Linked DNA regions of Homo sapiens: region 1 is linked to region 2. Evidence: promoter capture Hi-C in 16 types of primary human blood cells and fetal thymus (Javierre and others, 2016). All regions are on one chromosome and are shown on one strand. Each heading gives the region's core, a stretch centred on a gene start or on the middle of the fragment in contact. The rest is flanking DNA. Distances are from core to core; before and after follow the strand shown.

The links. Contacts are between HindIII fragments. The CHiCAGO score rates a contact against its expected background, and 5 or more counts as called.
Region 1: a contact is called between the fragment with the promoter of ZZZ3 here and the fragment with the promoter of RNPC3 in region 2, in 1 of 17 cell types (naive CD8 T cells). The highest score is 5.8, in naive CD8 T cells.

Annotation. Positions count from the first base shown.
Region 1 is chr1:77,679,505-77,685,846 of GRCh38, reverse strand. ZZZ3 (zinc finger ZZ-type containing 3) reads left to right here and starts at 3,189. Exons shown (of 15, transcript NM_015534.6): 1 at 3,189-3,262. RefSeq lists enhancers at 1,934-2,033, 1,463-2,236, 3,054-3,133 and silencers at 2,184-2,243, 2,254-2,673. The HindIII fragment of the contact is 10,120 bases long and covers 1-6,342 here.
Region 2 is chr1:103,522,507-103,528,071 of GRCh38, reverse strand. It overlaps RNPC3 (RNA binding region (RNP1, RRM) containing 3), which reads right to left and starts at 2,373. Exons shown (of 15, transcript NM_017619.4): 1 at 1,810-2,373; 2 at 330-377. The coding sequence starts at 2,001. RNPC3-DT (RNPC3 divergent transcript) reads left to right here and starts at 2,564. Exons shown (of 4, transcript NR_168321.1): 1 at 2,564-2,676. It also overlaps the pseudogene RN7SKP285. RefSeq lists an enhancer at 1,922-2,161 and a silencer at 2,482-2,581. The HindIII fragment of the contact is 7,657 bases long and covers 1-5,565 here.

The sequences.
Region 1 (6,342 bases), core at 1,940-4,439, about 26 Mb after region 2:
CCATTTGGGGTTACTTGTAGTTTTCTCCCATTCACATACTCATTCATGCAGTTCCCTCATCCAAGAATTATTTTTTTCTTCTTAGCAAAGTCATCCTGTAACTTAAATGCCAATCCTTGTAAGAAGCCCTTCCCAGAAGCCCTCCTCCCCTCCCACAGTACTTTATGTATCTATATAGAAACTTCTGCAGTTCAAATGGGCAAGTTACTTGCTTTATCAATAGAAAAATACAAATAATATTACAGGCTCGGTTCCCAGGAAGCACACTCTTACATGACTAGTGTGCAGGAGATTTATTAGGGAATGCTCTTGGGATCATTACTTGTGGGAGGGAAGAAAAGCTGAACTGGGCAGAAGTTGGACTTCAGTGAAGTCTCAATGGAATGCCTTAGCTGATCCTGCAAGTTGTTCTGCAGGAGGAGAAAATCCATCAGAATTGTACCAAATGGAGGTGAGAGGGCTGAGCCTTTTATCCCTGCATTGATCAGTCACTGGATGTGGCCTCTCTGAGAACATTATGACTCTGTGACACTGGCATGCCTGAAAGGGGCTGACAACCGATGGCTGGCTGTGGGTATGACTCTTGGCAGCAGCAGCTCAGTTCTTTATTCCTGAAGTGGGGTCTGAAAAGTGCATCTCAAGGCCTACCACAAATAGTATATATCTCATAGGATTGTCAGAAGCCTAAAATAGGGTAACATAGAAAAGTACACAGCATTTGGCCTGGCACATAGGAATCAAAAGCATGCTAAGTATGGTTATTATAATAGGATTTGGCTCTATAAGTAGAAAGAGCAAGGTAGGGAAACGTGTTTATTTTTGTATCTCTAGTCTTAGCATAGGGCACTAGTATGTTTTATCTTTCCTTTTTTATTTTTGAGACAGTCTTGCTCTGTCGCCCAGGCTGGAGTGCAGTGGCACGATCTCGGCTCACTGCAACCTCCACCTCCCGGGTTCAAGCAATTCTCCTGCCTCAGCCTCCCAAGTAGCTGGGATTACATGGGATAACAGGCGTGTGCCACCACACCTGGCTAATTTTTCTATTTTTAGTAGAGACGAAGTTTCGCCATGTTGGCCAGACTGGTCTTTAACTCCTGACACCTCAGGTGATCTGCCTGTCAAGGCCTCCCAAAGTGGTGGGATTACAGGCTTGAGACACCGCGCCCGGCCTCCCCCACCCCCGTTTTTTTTTGACATACTGCCACCCAGAAACACTAGTATGTTCAATAAATACTTGATGTGTTAAAAACATGTAACCCTTTTTCTTGAAGTAGATGTTACTTTGAGTTGAACTCAAAGCTAAAATACAAAACACCATTTAAAACATTTAATAACTTTTATTAGCAACATAAAAGAAGGCACAACACGTATCCACTTGCCCGAAAAAAAAAATAGTGTTGCAAAGGAAAACAAAAGTAATGAAACAGCACTGGACAATTGTCAAAGAAGAGCCCCAGTTAACGGCTTCTACCACTGGATTTTATATTTTTGGAACATAATCTTTATAGCCACGGAAGGAGGTTTAGCTGTTTTTCCACAGCTCATAAATGATGAAGTTATTTATCTTCATTAATGTGTGTTGGGCTTTATTTTCCTACATGCTCAATATAGTTGGTAGATCTGTTTTGATATTACTGAGCACTGCTTTGTGCCAGACACAATTCTGGGGATACAGCAATGAGCAAAACAGTTTACTAAGTCCCTGCTTTTAAAAATTTTACATTTCTGGTGGTGAGGATACTGACAAATAAGGTCTGGAAGTTGTAACTGTTATGAAGAAATAAAAGCAGGTGAAGAGTTAAAGCAATGGTGCAGGTGTACTTTTTTTGGATACAGTGGTCTGGGCAGCCCTCTGAGAAGGGACCTGAAATATGCATCGAACATCGAGGAGTTAAAAAAAATCTGGAGGAAATGTTCTGCCAGAGAAATCGGCAAGCACAAAGGCCCGAAGTGGTTCGAGCCTGCGTGCTGTGGTACAAGCCAGAGGTGAACGAGGCGAGGCAGAAGCACGATCATAAATACATGTATGGATGTTCTCCTGGCTTGAGACCACAGTGCTAAGGGAGGTGGGGTTTACAAATCTCTCAGGAGGCCACAAAGGGCAGGATGAAGCCGATTTCCAATGGCGGAGCTACGAGGACGCCTTTCCTCTGCTAGGGCCAGGTTGGACGGTTGCAAGGGATGGACTGCAACCCGCCCTCGGAAGACCAAACTTCGCCCAGGGGCAGGGACTGGCCGGGGAGGGCCTCGGCGGCGCCCGACCCGCGGGCGCTGCACGGGCCGCGGTTACCAGCAGGCGGTGTAGTGAGCGCGCCTGCAGCAGCAGCAACAGCAGCAGCAGCGGTCGCCGCCGCCGCCGCCGCCCGCCAGTCCCAACGAGGAGAAAGGAGGGGACCGGAAGGAGCCGCTGGTGCTGCGGGAAGTGGCAGGAGCGGGAGGCGGGGACCCACCTGGAAGCGCCGCGGCGCCGCTATCGAGCTTCCTGCAGCGGTGGCCACCCGAGCAAGTGCCGTGGCGGGGGCGGAGAGCGGCCACGGCGGCGGCGCCTCCCCAAGTGGCCCGTTGCGTCCGACCCCGCGTGAAAGGTGAGCAAGAGCTCGGGACACGTGGTGAGGGCCAGACACGGGGGAGGGAGAATGAAGGGGGAGGGAATGGGGGTGGGAAACGATCGGCTTGGGACCCGGATTTGGAGCCAAGTACCGGGAGGGGGTGGGCTGGAGGCGACGACTGCGACGGCTGCGACGGCTGCGACGGCGAAGCCCCCACGTGGGGCGGGGGTGCGCGCGCACGTGTGCGCGGGCGAAAGGGGGGGCGGGGAGGGCTTTTGGGAGGGCGTCGGGAGCGCGCTCGCTCAGTAGCGGCCCACGTGACGGGCACGCCGAAAATGTTTCCACGTGACAGGGAGGCTGCCTGGGGCAGCGCACTGCGCTCTGTTTATGTAGTATAATCGTGGTAATCGGAGGTTTTTAAGATTTCTGCTTTTCTGTACAAGGGGAAAGGAGGAGACGTATAAAGCGGAAAGACTTCCTACTGTCTCAGTGTTTTAAATGTTCACTACTCCGTTAGTGAAGTGCTTTTTAAGTTCCGAAATACTGATTTTTTTCTGTACCGCCATGTTGGGTCTAGTGGAAGCTCGCGAGATGCGAGTGGGTTTGTATCGCGAGATCTCTCGATTCTCGCGGGACCTCGTTGGCAGAGCAGTTGTCCTGGATGGCGGAGCCTTGGGTTCCGGGGGCCTGGGACCTGCAACTCTTTCTACAAGGCAAGTCGTTAGGGAGGGGCCCGGGGCGAGTGCCTCTTGGTGCCGGGATACGTGCTGCATCAGCTTCCCATAGTCTTGAAGGGAATACAGTAACCCCATTGAGGCAACACTGCCCTCCCCATCCCCCTGCGGGCGCTCCACCACCTGCAAAAGCATATGCACCCCTCAGCCAGGTCCTTCTCCCCACGCAGTGATAGTTCCACCCTGTCCCACTCACTGGAAGTCCGGGAGCCGTGCTCGCGCAGACCTGATGATTCCATTGGATACCGTTCCTCTTACTTTAAGATGTTCTTGTCAGTTTTTCCCTTCTTGCCATTTTCTAAAGTATTCCAGACCGGTTAACTATTGTGTCGCGTTTTCTGCTGCAGTACCTGACTCCAGTCTCCTGAAACAGAACTCCTCCCATCTATTTTCTCTGGGTGTCATTTACTCATCACCCTGACTTCGTATTTTCAGTAACTTTTGGCAGTATTTGGAGGGCCCATTATGTCTCTGACAACACCTGTGGTCAGAATAAAATCCTGCTTTTCATCATTTTGTACGTGCCTATTAACTCAGTTATCGGTAGGGTTTTAATTACTACTGTGTTACTGAGGTTGCCATCTTTGAAGTTTAGGGATGGTTGTTTTAGGTTATATATTTAAGGTAACAGACTGTTTCATGTGATTTTTTTTTTTTTTTTTTTGAGACGGAGTCTCGCTCTTGTCGCCTAGGCTGGAGTGTAGTGGGGCGATCTCGGCTCATTGCAACCTCCGCCTCCCGGGTTCAAGCGATTCTCCTGCCTCAGCCTCTCGAGTATCGAGTAGCTGGGATTACAGTCGCGCTTCACCACGCCCGGCTAATTTTTGTGTTTTTAGTAGAGACGGGGTTTCACCATGTTGGCCAGGCTGGTCTCAAACTCCTGACCTCAAGTGATCCACCTGCCTTGGCCTCTCAAAGTGCTGGGATTTCAGCACTGTACAGGCGTGAGCCACCGCGCCCGGCCTCAGGTCAACTTTTTAGTAAAGAGCAAACTCATAAATTTTGGCATCAGAGTTTGAGCTTTATTTTTCTTAAATGAGTTTGAAATCAATTTAATATTTCTCTCCAATTCCCTAATGTCTCAGAAGTGAATTTACAGTATACCTTTGTTTTTTCGTATTCTTAAGTAGTATTTGGATTTTATTTAGTAGTTGCAGTACTAAATAAGGAGTGGGGAGTTAATTACAAAACGAATCAGGTGACTAGTTAATTTATTCATAGTTTGTTTTTTAAAACTACAAAAGTGTTTTTTTTTCCTATACATAATACAGAGAGGTATATAGTATAGAGTAACACAGTGCTTGTTTCACGGTACCACAAAGTTCCATTCCTCAGTCTTAAATCTCTGTAACCAGCCTTTGTGGTTGCTGTGTATCATTCCAGATATTTCCATATTTTGGTTTAGTTTTTGTTTCTTAAATGAAGGGGAGAAAGTGTTGTTTTAATGGGGTACCAACACAATATTGGCAATCAGTAAACATTTTTTAACTAAATTAAATTTTTATTTAGTGATATATGCCTGTTTGTCAAGACTTACGTATGCATACTTACGCAGATTTTTTTTGTTTGTACTGATTTTTTTGGTAGTATAATCTTGTGAAAATATCACAAGTAACTTATTTTTGCAGTAAAGTTGATTTATTGTGCTTGGTAGCTTTGCACAGAAAGAAAGTACATGTAAAACAAGATTTAAATAAATTAATGTTTTATCACTTGAGTTTTATATTTTTATCTTTAATGTGTGTTATGTATTTAACTTTATATATTATATATTCTAAACTGTAACCTAACTATATAGGAGTTTTTCAGACGTTTTAAAAGTTTATCACTGTGATTAAAATGATAGTTTGACCATGCAACTTAGTGATCTCAATTGGAGAGTGGTAGACATTAGTAGTTAGTACAAACAAAGGTATATATACTTGAAGTTGCTAAGCGGCTATCATTTTGTAAGTGTTGTTTTTGTAATTTCCCCCCGCCAAACCTACCAGTAATAATATTTATCAGACCAGTCACATAAGAGAATTGTCCACTCTTTGGGCAATGTGGTTTTTTGTTGTAACAGTGCAAGTAGAAATGTTGAGGAATAGAAGTGAGTGTTGAGAGGTATGATGTTGGAAAGAGGAAAAGGGGACATTGGGAGTGTAGAGGTTGATACTGAAATGGAATTGGACAAGTTGGGGAGAAAAGAGGAATGTAGAAGGTTGACAGTGAGGCAAGAGCCATGGTGCAAGAATAGTCAGGCTCATAATAGTTGGAGGACAGCCCGAGTCGGTATTTGAGGCAACTTTCTCCTCCTATTCTTTTTTAGATAGTTCTGGGTCTATTCACAGAATTGCTAGATATTTCCTGTCATAAAAGTCAGCAGCTTAAGGTTATACTTAATTGAAACCTTGTGAATTCTTTACTTTAGATAAAGCTATTCTGTTAAATAACATTTGTTAAGTACGTTTTATTATTATTTTTAGAAGTGGGAAATTGTGAAAATGACAATGAGTTTGAAGGTCACAGTTCTACAATGGCCTTTGCAAAGGTATCTACATAAGTTTAGCTTGGTAACTGGGCCTTTAATAGTCCACGTGCATCTGATCTATGAAATAATATATGTTCCTTGTTCTTAGAACTTTTGTTTTATAAACTTTTCAGTATTGGGTCTTGGGAAATACCAGTCTTTTACAGACACGAAATTATTTGAGGTACTTGGTAGAAATATACTGAGAAAAATCCAAGGAAGAGGAAAAATGTATTTTTACATGGTTTGTGTTTGGTTGAGTAAAATTTAAATAACCAAGAAATTTAATTTTCACTTTTCTCAATTATTACGGTCATATAAATGATGAGAGCTAATGAACTTCAGTGATCAGAGGAAACTATTAACAGTGATAATATAATAATACTGATTTATTCTCACTTGAGTTTTTTCCTTAAGGTCTGACACCATGCCAATTTCCACAGACCTGTAACTTTAAGTTACCTTAAGCTGGGCCTGGTGGCTCACGCCTGTAATACAAGCACTTTGGGAGGCCGAGGTGGGAGGATTGCTTGAGACCAGCAACAAC
Region 2 (5,565 bases), core at 1,124-3,623:
GTGAATGATTCCCTGGCATTATAAAGAAATGTATATTCTCCTTTTAACACTTGAAACATCTTACCTTGTAACAGTCACAGAGATATTTATCAATCTAAATCATTTAGAAATTGTTATTTTAATTACATACGCAGTTAGTTTTTCTTTATAGATAATCTACTAAAGGACTGGGCAAGATCTGCCAACTGACAAATCAAATGTAGTCTGTTGGGGAAACTGTTGGAATACAAACGCTTTTGCTTCTTAAAAACCACAGTTAAACATTATCTGAACCAAGATTGTATAAGAGGATCCTGTTGACAACTTTAATCGTCAAGAAAAAGTCATACCTTTATAGCTGCTTTTTCATTAGGGAATGTGGCAAAAGCTGTATGTTTCTGAAACAGAGTTAAGGTACAAATTACTTCCAATATAATTTCAGTTTCTCACAAAGAAATCTGACTTTTTACCAGTGGAGTAATGTGACATGTTAATAAAATCACGGGAAAGGATGAAAACTCAAGACCATTTAACTGATTACTAATTTCAGTCCAGTGGTTTTCAATACTTTTTGAGTCAGACTTGAGATGAAAGCTATGCAACCTCTATCATATAAAGACACACGTTTTACACATGCAAATAGTTCAAAAGACCAAAAGTTTAAAGACCTGTTCTACACAGAGGGTCACTTTTAACCAACTAAAAATTTATTTCCTTCATTTATGACAGATCTAAAGATTTTAAACTTTCCTCTATACATAACAATGCGTAGTTTAAAAACATTCACCAACAGAGAAATCGTTCTTCAAGGTGCATATTTCCTTTGTGCTTTATCTTTGTAATAATGTTCAATGGGAGAAGTCTATTTTTAAACATAAATTATACGGATTTTAAAAACCATCAGAAAAGAAACACAAATCAACAGTAAAAGAATCACTATGCTAAGGAAGAGCTCTGGTCAATGCTTATTAAAAGTTACTTTAATAATTATATCGCACATTCTAATTTTGTCTAATCTGATACACGATGACCTGATGTACTTAAATTGAGCCATATATAATTTTTTTTTTTTAATTTGCAGGCATAAGTGACATTTAAACTGATCAAAATTGGTCTTTCTTCTAATTCAGTAACTCTCAACTTGGGCTGCACATTAACATTAAAATCACCTAGGGAAACTTTAAAACCACTGAGTCTTGCACCATCGCTATTCCTATTTTAATGAAGAGAAATCTAAAATATCTTTGGATATAAAGCAAAACAAAGTAATTGTGTAAATTCCTACACAGGTACTCTTAACAGCCCTAAAAAATTGTTCCCTAAAAGATGTCATCGGGAAATTTTTATGAAAAGCCTCTTTTTCTAGTTGAAATTCTGCATTTAATTTACGCAAGTCACCAATGTAGCTTCTCCTCTATTTTAATGAACGATTTAACATTGGCTTATAAATGAAGTAGGACTTTAAAAAATCCCTTGATGCACATTTGTAAGAATACTCTTGAGTCCAGGAGAAATAACCCCAAATTCAAAAAAGTTGTGAGGCTCTCAGGATGGATCCGAAAACTCAATATAACTAAGCTAATTTCCATTCTTCTGCTTTGTCGTTCTCACTTGCCCTTTTCTGCAGTGCTATGACTAATCCAGACTCGAGCCGATTAAAACTCCACTTCGCAGAGCAGATATTTTGATAAAAAAGAGGTAGGATGGGGGAGCTCTCATCACACAAGTCCATCTTCCCCACTCGTTTCCATTTTACTCTTGTCAGCGCTCCCCCTCCCCGGTCACTTCCCAAATGCCTTCCCGGGAGACTCCGGAGGGGCGCGCCCTTACCAGTCGCCCCTTATCTGACAGGACCCGCACAGACTGAGCCCCGAAGTACTTCAGCAAGTCCTCTTTCTCCTCAGCAGTAAGCTCAGCCGGCAGGTGCCTGACCAGAAGGGTTCGGTCGCCCCGAGGCGGGGAAAGCGAGGAGGAGCTCGTGCATCCCCTTGATATCGCAAGCGGCTGCTCGGGAGCTGCCATTTTCCTTGGAGAAGCAAAAACAGAAATCGTGGGAAGAAGTCTCAGTCAAAATCGCGGCATCAACACAAGCTGGGAGAAATATTTTTTCCGCCTCGCGCTAAGGATTCTGGAAACCAGGAAATACCGAGAAAGAAAGTCACCTTCTCGCGAGAACTGCGCCACCGAAAAGCGGCAACCCTTCGAAGACTCTTCGGGGAAGGGCGCGGTGCTAATGATTTAAATTCCAGGGGTCTCCGGAAAGACTTACAAGCAAAAATTGGCCCAGAGATGTGCGAGGGTTAACACAAGTTGTCAATCAAAGAAGGAAACAGGAACCCCAGCCACTTCAGGGAAAGAAGGTTGACGCTCAAGGACAAGAGGACTCACGACTGCGCATGTGCGGGCTGGGACCGTCACAGGGCGGGGCGGGGCGCACGGCGGGGCGGGGCGCACGGCGGGGCGGGGCGCACGGCGGGGCGGGGCGCACGGCGGGGCGGGGCGCACGGCGGGGCGGGGCGCACGGCGGGGCGGGGCGCACGGCGGGGCGGGGCGCACGGCGGGGCGGGGCGCACGGCGGGGCGGGGCGCACGGCGGCGAGCGCTATCTGGAGCTGACCGTGCGGCTCTTAATCCCTGGCCTTGGGAAAGTGAATTGGCCTGAATAGCAAGGAGGAGAACTTGGGTGTGGAAATACCGGGTATGTTCTTACAGTATTTAGATGGTAAAATATAAAGCTAGCCAGTTATTCTGTCAACTCATTAGACACCATTGTAGGGAGGAGAACTCAGTTTAAGGGGCAAAACGTTGAGAGTTCAGACTTTTTTCTTGAATCAGTAGGCATTTAGCAGACGGATAGGCCCCTGCCAGGGTTCATTTCGCAGAAATGGCAGCCTCTAGGGAGAGGTAACCTAATAAATAAATTATTGCATGTGTGTGTATGTGTGTGTGTGTAGGGGTGTGTGTGTGTGTGTGTGTGTATGTGTGTGTGTGTGTAGGTGTAGGTACTTTTCTCCCTATTTTACAGCTGAGGACACTGATGTACAAAGAGGTTAAATCACACAGCTAGAAAGTGGAAGAACTAAGTTTTGACCCTTGGTGTTCTGACTGGGGGTCTACATTCTAATCCACTGTTCTGCCTAGATTCTGAATGGAGTGAGGCAGGGATCATCCCCGGAGGGTCAGGAATGTACCCCTCACCCCATACAGAGAGGGCCTTGAGGATTCTAAAGAGAGGTTTTATGCTAGATGTAGCTGCTACAGTCTGGAGAACCAGAGTTCCTCTTACAGTTCTTTTTGCCACTTAAATAAATGTTAGAGATACAGCAGTAAGCAGTATACCAGCAATCTGCTGTCATCCCGCATTGGTTGGGGAAAAGGAGAGAGACAGATATTAATGAAAACTAGAAGACAAACATGAGAAGAACCTTCCCCACACACCCACCAAAATATCAGATAGGTAGAGCCAGACCACGTAGACGCTGTAGATTTGTTAGGAGCCCTTTTTATTTGAGGAACATTTAGAAACTGACAAATTCTTTAAGTAGGTGTGTGTTGAGGGGAGAGAATCAAAGTTTAGGTATGAAAATTTCTCCGGTTGCAATGCAAAAAACAGAAGCAGAAAGACCAGTTGGACTACTGTAGAAGTCTGGAGAAAAACACTACCATAATAGTTTGGTGAAAGTGGACATGTAGAGAAGGAACTGGAATTGAGATACGTTTTAGAAGTAGTTGATAGGAACTTGCAGATGAAGAATAGTAAGCAAGGATAAATTCTGGATTTTTGGCTTAAGCTAGATATTATCCATCTGTAGATGATGATGCCATTTACTGAATGTGAGAAGATTGACCAAGTATAGCTAGGTTAGAAACTGTAGTGGGACATTGGGAATAGAGGAACATATATTAAGTTTAAGGTATCTATTCAGTATCCCTGTTTCAAGTAGGAAGTTGAATGTGTGTGTTTGGCATTCTTGGGAAAGGTTACCACGAGGTATGGCATCAACCTATATGGTATTTATATCTGAAGAATGACAAAGGGTATAGATAGAATTGTGCCCATAATGGAGTCATGGGACATGCAGATGTTGAGAAGTTGAGGCAAGGAAGAAGAAGAAGACAATCAATTCCTGCCCTCTCAATGCTTACTTTCTAAAATCAAGACAGAATAAATATGTAAATAAAGTTCTTTTCAGAGAATAATAAGTGCTTTGGAAAAAATAGGGTAGTGTTATAAACCGATTGGAGTGGTCATGCTATTTTAAACACTATCCTTCAGCGGCTTTTTTGTGTGTGTTCTTTGAAGACTTGTTTGGAGCTTCTAGCAAGGGAGCACTGCTACACGTATGCCCTTACAGAAAAATCATCCTCCTTTATGGGGGTAAGTCATCCTCCTCAGCCGAGTGGGCAGCTTTGGAAGAGACATATATGGGGCAGTTAGGAAGGAAGGGGAACCCAGCTAGTTAGCCAGATCAGCCAAATCAACTGTTGGGATCAGTTGGTGACAGGTGTCATGCAAAATGACCGTCACATCCTCCCTGTGACTCTTATGTTTAGTAAAATGTTCCAGACATAGTGCACATTCTGTAAATATCTATTCAATGAATGAATGCATGAAGGAATTCACTTTTATATTTACCACTGCCTCCTACGGTTAGGAATTACTACAGGGGCTATCAGGCAGAGTTTAATGGTCATTATCTACTGTAATTCAGGTATCATGACTGAGTGGAATAGTTACATGACAGAATTTTATTTTCTCTCTACTTAATTGCTTTTAGTTGTACTCAATGAAATCTACCTTATCCTTTCCTTGACAATATCTCAGGTAGAGGTCATAATTTTCTAGTCACTTTCAGTTGCTATCAGTACAGTTGGTTAGAGATGTCAAGTCCAAACTCCATTAAGGTGTCTCTTCTTACACTCCCCTCATATCAGGCTTGACCTAAAGGATTGCAGGAATATGTAATACACTCTAATCTTTTCTGTGTCTGAGTGTAGGTATGTGTGGTCGTATCTGAGAAGTACCTTTCTCATTCCCTCCTCTTTGTCTAGCCCAGAAGTTGCCAAACTTTTTCAGTTATTGGTAGCTTTATTGTCCCAGCAGTTTTTTCTAGCACCCCTTGATGCCACCTTATTTCCTATTCCACTCTGGTTTTCCAGGAAGCACTTGTTTTATATGAGAGCAACAGCCAAAAACCCAGCTTTTCAAATATATGACATTCTTAAAAGGAATTAAACAGTATCTAATGTTCAAATTGAGAAACATCTCAAGCTGGTAGTTCAGGTAGTGTCTGGTAAACAGTGAGTATTGCTATGTTTCCCTCAAATATTTAAAATATCCTATAGTACCTCTATAAGGTGGCAAGGGTACCTGGGGCACCTTAGCACAGTTTGAGAACTGTGAATTTAACTCATTTTCAGTCTTGATTTTCTATGTTGGGGAATGGGAGGCGGGAAAAGTAGTGGAGCTTGGGAGTGTCTGACTTCACTGAGCAATTGTTGGTTCTTTATCTCATTCTTATTCTCAGGGGTTTTGTGTGTTGATGGAGGTCCCCGCTAATGTGGTGGTTTTCTTGGGTTAATTTTC